3 separate regions of the Homo sapiens genome follow, and regions 1 and 3 are each linked to region 2. Evidence: promoter capture Hi-C in human tissues and cell types (Jung and others, 2019). All regions are on one chromosome and are shown on one strand. Each heading gives the region's core, a stretch centred on a gene start or on the middle of the fragment in contact. The rest is flanking DNA. Distances are from core to core; before and after follow the strand shown.

Region 1 (2,939 bases), core at 260-2,759, 50 kb after region 2:
TATAGAGAGGAGAGCAGAAGGATGGGAACAGGTAAATCTTCACTTCATGAAAAGAAGTCAAGAGGTAATATCTAAAAGAGAAAATAATTTTCAATATAGCATGTTATAGAGGTAAATCATAGGAGAAATATACAGAAGAGTTAAAAATAGTTGTCTCAGTGATGGGAGATTCTTTTGGGAGAGAATAAGACAGGAAATGCATACTGTCCTTTTTTATTAATTACAATTTTTATAATTAATTTATAATTATGTTTATAATTTTTATAAATGCTAGATTATAATTATTCATAATTTTTATAATTAATTTATCATTGTAAGTTTTTTTAAACAAGGTACATGAAGTTCTTTTTTGTTGGTGGTTTTTAGTTTTGGTTTTGGTTTTTAACTTTTATTTTAGGTTCAGGGGTATATGTGTAGGTTTGTTATATAGATAAACTCGTGTCATAGGGGTTTGTTGTACAGATTATTTCATCACCCAGGTACTAAACCTAGTACTCAATAGTTACTTTTCTGCTCCTCTCCCTCCTCCCACCCTCCACCCTCAAATGGTCCCCAGTGTCTGTTGTTTCCCTTTGTGTCCATAATAATTCTCATTATTCAGTTCCCGCTTCTAAGTGAGAATATGTGGTACTTGGTTTCCTGTTCCTATGTTGGTTTACTAAGCCACTATGAGTCCTGGACAGCCTGCAGAACTGTGAGACAATTAAACCTCTTTTCTTTATAAATTACCCAGTCTCAGGTATTTTTTTTTCTTTTTTTAAAGGTATTTCTTTATAGCAGTGCAAGAACCGACTAATATAATGTCTTTTATCACTCTGATTCCTTTGTTTGTGGGATGTGACCTATTTTTTTTTCTTTCTGGAAACTTTTAGGATCTTCTTTTTCCTTGATGTTCTGAAGCTACAAGATGACTTCCAATACCATGTTGAATAGGAGTGGTGAGAGAGGCCATCCTTGTCTTGTGCCAGTTTTCAAGCGGAATGCTTTCAGCTTTTGTCTGTTCAGTATGATGTTGGCTGTGGGTTTGTCATATATGGCTCTTATTATTTTGAGGTTATGTCCCTTCAGTACCTAGTTTATTGAGAGTTTTTAACATGAAGAGATGTTGAATTTCATCAAAAGCTTTTCCTGAATCTATTAAGATAATCATGTGGTTTTTGTCTGTAATTCTGTTTATGTGATTAATCACATTTTATTGATTTGCATATGTTGAACCAACCTTGCATTCCAGGGATGAAGCCTACTTGATCGTGGTGGATTAGCTTTTTGATGAACTGCTGGATTCAGTTTGCAAGTACTTTGTTAAGGATTTTTGCATAAATGTTTGTCAAGGATATTGACCTAAAGTTTTGTTGTTGCCAGGTTTTGGTATCAGGATGATGCTGGCCTCATAGAATGAGCTGGGGAGGGGCCTTTCCTCCTCAATTTTTTGGAATAGTTTCAGTAGGAATGGGACCAGCTCTTCTTTGTTCATCTGATAGAATTCAGCTGTGGATCCTTCTTGTCCTGCGCTTTATTTTGTTGGTAAGCTATTTACTACTAATTCAATTTCAGAGCTCATTATTAGTCTGTTCAGGGAATCAATTTCTTCCTGCTTCAGTCTCGGGAGGGTGTATGTGTCCAGGAATTTATCCATCTCTTCTAGGTTTTCTAGTTTGTGTGCATAGTCTCTGATGGTTATTTTTATTTCTGTGGGGTCCGTGGTAACATCCCCTTTGTCATTTCTAATTGTAAATGTCTTATAAAAACATTTACATTAAATGTTAAAACACCTTAATGTAAAAGGTAGACCAGAATCTAATAGAAAAATCTATGATCCTGGATGGAAAAGCACTTTATTAGAAAACTACAAAAGCAGAATTGTAAAGGGGCAATGGATTTGAGCATATCAAAAATTAAAGATAACTGTGGAAGGAAAGGCAACCATGAAAAAAGTTAACAGGCAGATGACAATCTGAGAAATGATATTTGCACAATTTTTCCTCAACAGAGAGTTGCCCAAGGAAGTCAACAGGAGAGCCAGGTATTTTCTCTTTATCCATCAACTTTGAGCCTGGAAAAGGCACTGTGGCCCCTGGTCATAGTTGCCTTTGTGACATCACGGCCATCTCTTTCTCCACCTTTCCTGCCCCTGCCAAGATCAGGAAACAGCAACCAGAGGGAGATGATCACCTGAACCACTGCTCCAAACCATGGGCAGTAAATGCTGTGTAAGACTCAGGCACACAAACTCCCCCAGGGGTGGGAGTTGTCCCATGGCCCAGGAAAGCACCAGGCCACTTCTTAGGACCCAGGCAAAGAATGGGGAACTGGGCCTGTGGGGACTTTGCAGTCAGGCTGGTCCTCACCCATGCTCCCCCACACCCATATTCCGATTGCAGAAAGGTGGTCCAGATGAAGATGCAGTAGAAAGACAGAGGCGGCAGAAGGTAGGTGGGGCCCAGGAGGGTGAGAGAATTGCAGATCATTGACTCTTTGATCCCAGAGTTCTTAGAATGGAGATCCATCTCTGGCTCAGCATTGCCCTCTTATCCCCTCAAGCCCTCCCTCTCCTTGGTGAACTGAGTAAGGTATGGAGATAGACAGTAAAAGGGGAGGAAGTTTCGTGCGCACAGCCACCTGATAGGTGGGGCTCAGCACAGGAAGTGGAAAGGCCCAGGAGAATGAGGAGGGACTGAGACATGGTAGTGGAAGTCCACAAAAGTGAGATGAGGGGAGACCCCAAAGGGCTGCAGCACCACGCAAGACATTAGGAGGCAGCATCATGGCTGGAGTTTGGACCAAGACACAGGCCATAAATGCAGAGGTTCATGGATTCTTATAAGAATCCTTCAGTTCCTCACACCCTGGTCTTCCAGTTGGGTCTTCTGGACCAGAAAGTGTCTCCGCTAGTCCCATAAACCCGAGAAGTCCACAGATCAAACATATCCCGATTTCAT
Region 2 (2,700 bases), core at 152-2,651:
CAGAGGGACAACCCTTTCCCCTGCCTATCCCTAGTCCTCTGTTTGTTTACCTGCCCCCATGCCACCCCCACAACCATCCCCCCACAGCCCCCAAGTCTCTCTCCCCTCCCTGATCCCATGCCTGGTTCTCCAAGGAAGTGCCCAGCAGAGGGGAGGGAAGCCTTGTTGTTCAGCCCCAGGGTGGGCAGGCGGCAGGCACAGCTGCTGCCCTCAGCTCCTGCTCTGGCTTCCCCAGGGGCTGGCTCTGGCTGGCTGCTCCCTGACTCCCTTCCCCACCATAAGGCACAGCGTCTGTCCTGCTGTTGCCCAGCTGAAGTGCCATGTCCTCCTGGCTCCCTGCCAAGCACTCTGCCGGCCCTGAGGGCCTTGCCAAGCACAGGCCTGTGGAATCCTGGCCTTCCCAGCTGGCCCTGGCTGCAGCCAGATTCTCTGATCTTCTGATCTGAATGGAGATGCCTGGACAGGGGCTGCAGGAAACTAAAGCCCAATGCCTACTCCCACTGTGGAAGGGGCCAAAATCAGGCTGACTGAGGCATCATTGCTTGACCTGGGCCCTGGGGTCTCTCTTGGATGCAAGACTGTCCCGGTATGCTGTTAGGAACAGGGGCCTAGGTTGGTGACCTGAGGACAGGGGCTCTAGACCACACCAGGGAATCTTTCTGGGGGGAAGGCAGAAAACTTAGAGGCTGAACCCTCCTCCATGAGTCTAATCTCCAAAGGGCAAGTGTATGGTCAGTAAGGGTCTTTATTGGAAGAGAGATCCAGCCTCCTTGGCTCTGTCAGCGCCCTAGGTCATGAGGATTTCGATGTCAAGCTCCAGCCGGCTGGCTCTGACCTCATAGTGGCCCCGGATCAGGCCTCGGGTTTGGCTGGCATGCCAGCGCCAGTGAGACTGGATGATGCAGGCCGCTTGGCGTGCCTGGAGGAACCGCCTGCGGGCCTGCCACATTCGAACCTGTGCCTGCACCTTCACCACCGCCCACTCCTGGCAGGTATAGAGTCTTAGTGCCAGGCGCCGTCTTTGCTCCAACATCTTGGCCTGCATTGACCTCCACCAGCACTGGATGACCCAGGCTCTGAGTGCTGCCTGCAGTAACGTCCGGCGCACCATGTTTCCACGCCACCATGACTGAATCTTTATGGCTGTCTTCTCTAACTGATTGGGGGAAAGGAAAAACAGGGAGATGCTCAATGGGGGACCCTCCCCTCCTGTTCCTATCCCCATCTCTGATCTTGGGAGGAAAGAAGGCCTGGCCCAGGTGCCCCTGACTTCTTGTTTCTAGGGCCCATCCATCTTGTTTCCAATCCCCCACTCACATTTAGACACGGTTCATTACCTGTCAGGTAAGTCCCTACTGCAAGGGCCTTACTCACATTTTGCGTGTCCATGGCCTTGATCCTTAGGGTCCACTTATCTGTCACTTAGGCCACCCTTGTCTTTAGCCCCACCCTCAACTGTTAGTCACACCTCCATCATTGGACTCCGCCCACTTGCACACAAGACTCTACCTCATCAGGTCCCGTCTGCACGCATTTTAACCACATTTCTCTCTCCTCTTCTCTTGCTTTCATCTCTTTTGCTTTATTGATTCCCACCACTTTGGGAGCCTACCATTATCTCTTGCCTTCAGTTTATTTCTCAGCCCCAGTGGCATTCCTGATCCTCCTGATGGCAGTGAAGAGAGAGTCATGCAGCTTACCTACAAGGAAGGAGTTTTACTTTAAGCCTCTACTCATAGCCAATTTGGATTTCCTGAAGCTTAAGTGTCAGGGCGCCTGTCAGGGCCCGAGGAACGTGTTTACAGAGCTGTATATTTTTGGGTAAAATTTGTGAAAGCAAGATATTTCAGCTGCAATTGGAGAGGACCTCTGTCTCTCTTCCCTCTTACTCCCTCTGTCACTCACCTCCTGTTGAGTGGGGTGGAATGGCAACCTCTTTTGCCACGAGACTAAGGGAAGGCTGAGTTGGGATAGACTCAGTTTTTTTTTTTCTTTTTTTTTTTGAGACAGAGTCTCGCTCTGTCGCCCAGGCTGGAGTGTAGTGGCACAATCTCGGCTCACTGCAAGCTCCGCCTCCCAGGTTCAGGCCATTCTCCTGCCTCAGCCTCCTGAGTAGCTGGGACTACAGGTGCCCGCCACCACGCCCGGCTAATTTTTTGTCTTTTTAGTAGAGACGGGGTTTCACTGTGTTAGCCAGGATGGTCTCGATCTCCTGACCTCGTGATCCGCCCTCCTCTGCCTCCCAAAGTGCTGGGATTACAGGCGTGAGCCACCGCGCCCGGCCTAGACTCAGTTTAACAGCATAGATTTGTGTGGTTCACAGTCACCCTTGGGAACACATAAATCCTTGCTAGCCATTCTGCTGTTGCTGTGTTCATTCACCTTGCTCATGGCGTGAAGATGCAGGAACAGAAGGGCTGCTATCCAATAAGAACGTGTCTTCCAGTGCTGGCACCAAAAGTATTTGGGCAGGGGAGGAAAAGTAAATGTGAAAAGTATGGAACCAGAAGCCAGTCTGTAGAAAATTCTTCCTGTTATTAGATGTGTAAAACTATAAGTGGAAGATTCAAGTCTCATTGATGCCTGATTAAAATTGAAGCTCTCTCTTTTCAGGAATATACTTGACAATGCAATGATACAATTTTAAACATTTCCATACTTTTTTCTTTTCTTGGTGGGAATTTTGTGAAATAGAATTTA
Region 3 (2,991 bases), core at 354-2,853, 63 kb before region 2:
GTTGGAATCTGGGGTCCGATTTGGTTGATGTTAGAGCAAGGCTAAATTCAGCATGTTTGGCTTGGGTGGAATTTATGGTAGGGCTAGAGTTGGATTTTGAGAACTTTTAGGCTGAGTAGAAAGAGTAGGTGCTTGAGGGGACCTGGGTTTGAATCTAGGCTGCACTATTCACTCATGGGGCCTTAAGCATGTCTTCTGCTTTCTTGAACCCTGATTTCTCACTGGGGCCAGGGATGGCTGTAAATCCTGGCTAGAGCCTGGCTGGGAGATGTGAGGTTTACAGGGGATGAAGTGGGGGTGGAGAGAGGAAGTGATTTTCCAGCCACTGACCACATTCTGGTGAATGGCAGTGGTTGCAGGTGACCAGTGAGGTTGGGATTCAGTTTGCACCAGGATGACTGTTAGGACTAGGGGTGCTGGAGCTGGGGTTGTTGTTAGGATTAGTGGGGACAGGATTGGAGCTGAGACTGGGTTTAGCCTTAGCATTGAGTTTGGGGAGAGGGCTGTAGTGTATGTTTCGATGAAGTTGGGATTTGGAGCCTGGGTTGGAAAGTGTTGGATAGTACTAAAGTTGAATTTGGGGAGTCATGGTTGGGGATTGATGTGGGCATTAGGTTTTTGGAGATGTCTGGGCTTTAAGGCTGGGATTACATTTGGCATTTAGGGTTGGGGTTTGATGTTGGAGTTTAGGAGTAAGACTTTGTTGTCATCTCTCATTTAGAAAAATGATTGGGGTCAAGGCAGGATTTAGTATTGGGTTAAGGATTGGAAGGGCTAATGGTGGTCTTAGCTCTGGCATTTGGGTTCCATGTTAGGGTGAATGTTGAGGTCACATCAGGGTAACACACTAGTCCAACCTTCTCTTCCTTCCCTCCCCCATCCTAGCCCCCTTTCGCCCAGCTGACACCCACAATGAGGTCCGCTTTGACCGCTTTGGTGATGGTATTGGCCGCTACAACATCTTCACCTATCTGCGTGCAGGCAGTGGGCGCTATCGCTACCAGAAGGTGGGCTACTGGGCAGAAGGCTTGACTCTGGACACCAGCCTCATCCCATGGGCCTCACCCTCAGCCGGCCCCCTGCCCGCCTCTCGCTGCAGTGAGCCCTGCCTCCAGAATGAGGTGAAGAGTGTGCAGCCGGGCGAAGTCTGCTGCTGGCTCTGCATTCCGTGCCAGCCCTATGAGTACCGATTGGACGAATTCACTTGCGCTGATTGTGGCCTGGGCTACTGGCCCAATGCCAGCCTGACTGGCTGCTTCGAACTGCCCCAGGAGTACATCCGCTGGGGCGATGCCTGGGCTGTGGGACCTGTCACCATCGCCTGCCTCGGTGCCCTGGCCACCCTCTTTGTGCTGGGTGTCTTTGTGCGGCACAATGCCACACCAGTGGTCAAGGCCTCAGGTCGGGAGCTCTGCTACATCCTGCTGGGTGGTGTCTTCCTCTGCTACTGCATGACCTTCATCTTCATTGCCAAGCCATCCACGGCAGTGTGTACCTTACGGCGTCTTGGTTTGGGCACTGCCTTCTCTGTCTGCTACTCAGCCCTGCTCACCAAGACCAACCGCATTGCACGCATCTTCGGTGGGGCCCGGGAGGGTGCCCAGCGGCCACGCTTCATCAGTCCTGCCTCACAGGTGGCCATCTGCCTGGCACTTATCTCGGGCCAGCTGCTCATCGTGGTCGCCTGGCTGGTGGTGGAGGCACCGGGCACAGGCAAGGAGACAGCCCCCGAACGGCGGGAGGTGGTGACACTGCGCTGCAACCACCGCGATGCAAGTATGTTGGGCTCGCTGGCCTACAATGTGCTCCTCATCGCGCTCTGCACGCTTTATGCCTTCAAGACTCGCAAGTGCCCCGAAAACTTCAACGAGGCCAAGTTCATTGGCTTCACCATGTACACCACCTGCATCATCTGGCTGGCATTCCTGCCCATCTTCTATGTCACCTCCAGTGACTACCGGGTGAGCTACCTGCCACAGAGGTCGGGGGAGATGGGACACCAGACCCTCTGTTTCCTGGTATCTTATTTAATCTACTGGTAGCTCTGGGGTTCCAAGAGGATAATGCCCACTCAGGGGACCACAGCTTGTGTGGATCCCAAGGGGAAGGTGGGAGGGCTGAATAGGACCTAGGGAAATGGCCAGGGAGGTGGGGAACTCGAGTTAGAGAGAGCTGAGATTTCAGGACTTGAATGTCATCCCCTATCCTGGAAGGTGATGGGGGTGCAGAAATATGTTCAAATGGACAGGGTTCTGCCCTGCTCCACTGAGGGGTCATCTGCAGAAGGGGTTGAGAGATGAAGCCAGGGAAGGCAGGAAAGATGAAGCAAGGTGGGTAGGGGAGGAGATCCAGGGTATAGAGTTGAGAAAAGCTAAAGCAGGTGAAAATTGTTCCCCAGTTGGTGGCTTCTGAGCAAATTTGGTTCCAACTGGCACTGTGTCTCAATGGGTCTCCCCAGCTCCAAGGGGCAATGGCTGCTTCAGATAGGGTGGTCAGGGAAGCCCTCTCTGAGGAGGTGACAGATGAGCTATGTTCTGAGTAAGAAGATTATCTTGGTTAATCTTCATAACTTGAGTAAGCTCCATGGCTCTCCCGTTTTACAGATGAAGAAACAGAGACTCAGGGAGGTTCAATCCCTTGCCCAAGGTCACTCAGCTTGGGAGTGCAGAGCAGGGTCTGAACTGCAGAAAAATTGAGGCGAAAGCCCCGGCAAAGGCCCCTTCCCCAGGACAGAGGTGTGGTGGCACAGTGCTGGGGGCCAGGGACCGCTGGGCTTGGCTGCTCTGCTTGCACCTGCTGGGCCACCTGCTTGGGTGGTAGAGGCCAGGGCTGGGGAGGGATTCTGCTCTGACTCAGCCTGCATTTGCATATGATTTGCATTTGCATGCCAATCACAGGCAGCTAAGGACTCACCTGAGACACACACCGTACCCACACATGCATGCACACACACACACACACTTGTACACACAGACATAGCCACATGCATGC

The links. Contacts are between HindIII fragments. The study calls those that stand out against the background at their distance.
Region 1: a contact is called between a fragment that was not itself captured here and the fragment with the promoter of IQCF6 in region 2, in 2 of the 25 tissues and cell types used here (heart right ventricle and thymus).
Region 3: a contact is called between a fragment that was not itself captured here and the fragment with the promoter of IQCF6 in region 2, in 2 of the 25 tissues and cell types used here (mesendoderm cells and thymus).

Annotation. Positions count from the first base shown.
Region 1 is chr3:51,827,284-51,830,222 of GRCh38, forward strand. It overlaps IQCF3 (IQ motif containing F3), which reads left to right and starts at 2,143. Exons shown (of 3, transcript NM_001393887.1): 1 at 2,143-2,210; 2 at 2,382-2,429. The coding sequence starts at 2,193. The HindIII fragment of the contact is 8,072 bases long and covers 1-2,939 here.
Region 2 is chr3:51,777,836-51,780,535 of GRCh38, forward strand. IQCF6 (IQ motif containing F6) reads right to left here and starts at 1,402. Exons shown (of 2, transcript NM_001368369.1): 1 at 1,318-1,402; 2 at 728-1,156. The coding sequence starts at 1,389. The coding sequence ends at 788. All of the region lies in intron 2 of LOC105377087 (a long non-coding RNA gene), which reads left to right. The HindIII fragment of the contact is 12,191 bases long and covers 1-2,700 here.
Region 3 is chr3:51,714,177-51,717,167 of GRCh38, forward strand. It overlaps GRM2 (glutamate metabotropic receptor 2), which reads left to right. Exons shown (of 6, transcript NM_000839.5): 4 at 886-1,961. Among named protein-coding and RNA genes, the nearest start is that of GRM2, 8.6 kb to the left of the region's middle. RefSeq lists an enhancer at 2,274-2,991. The HindIII fragment of the contact is 7,924 bases long and covers 1-2,991 here.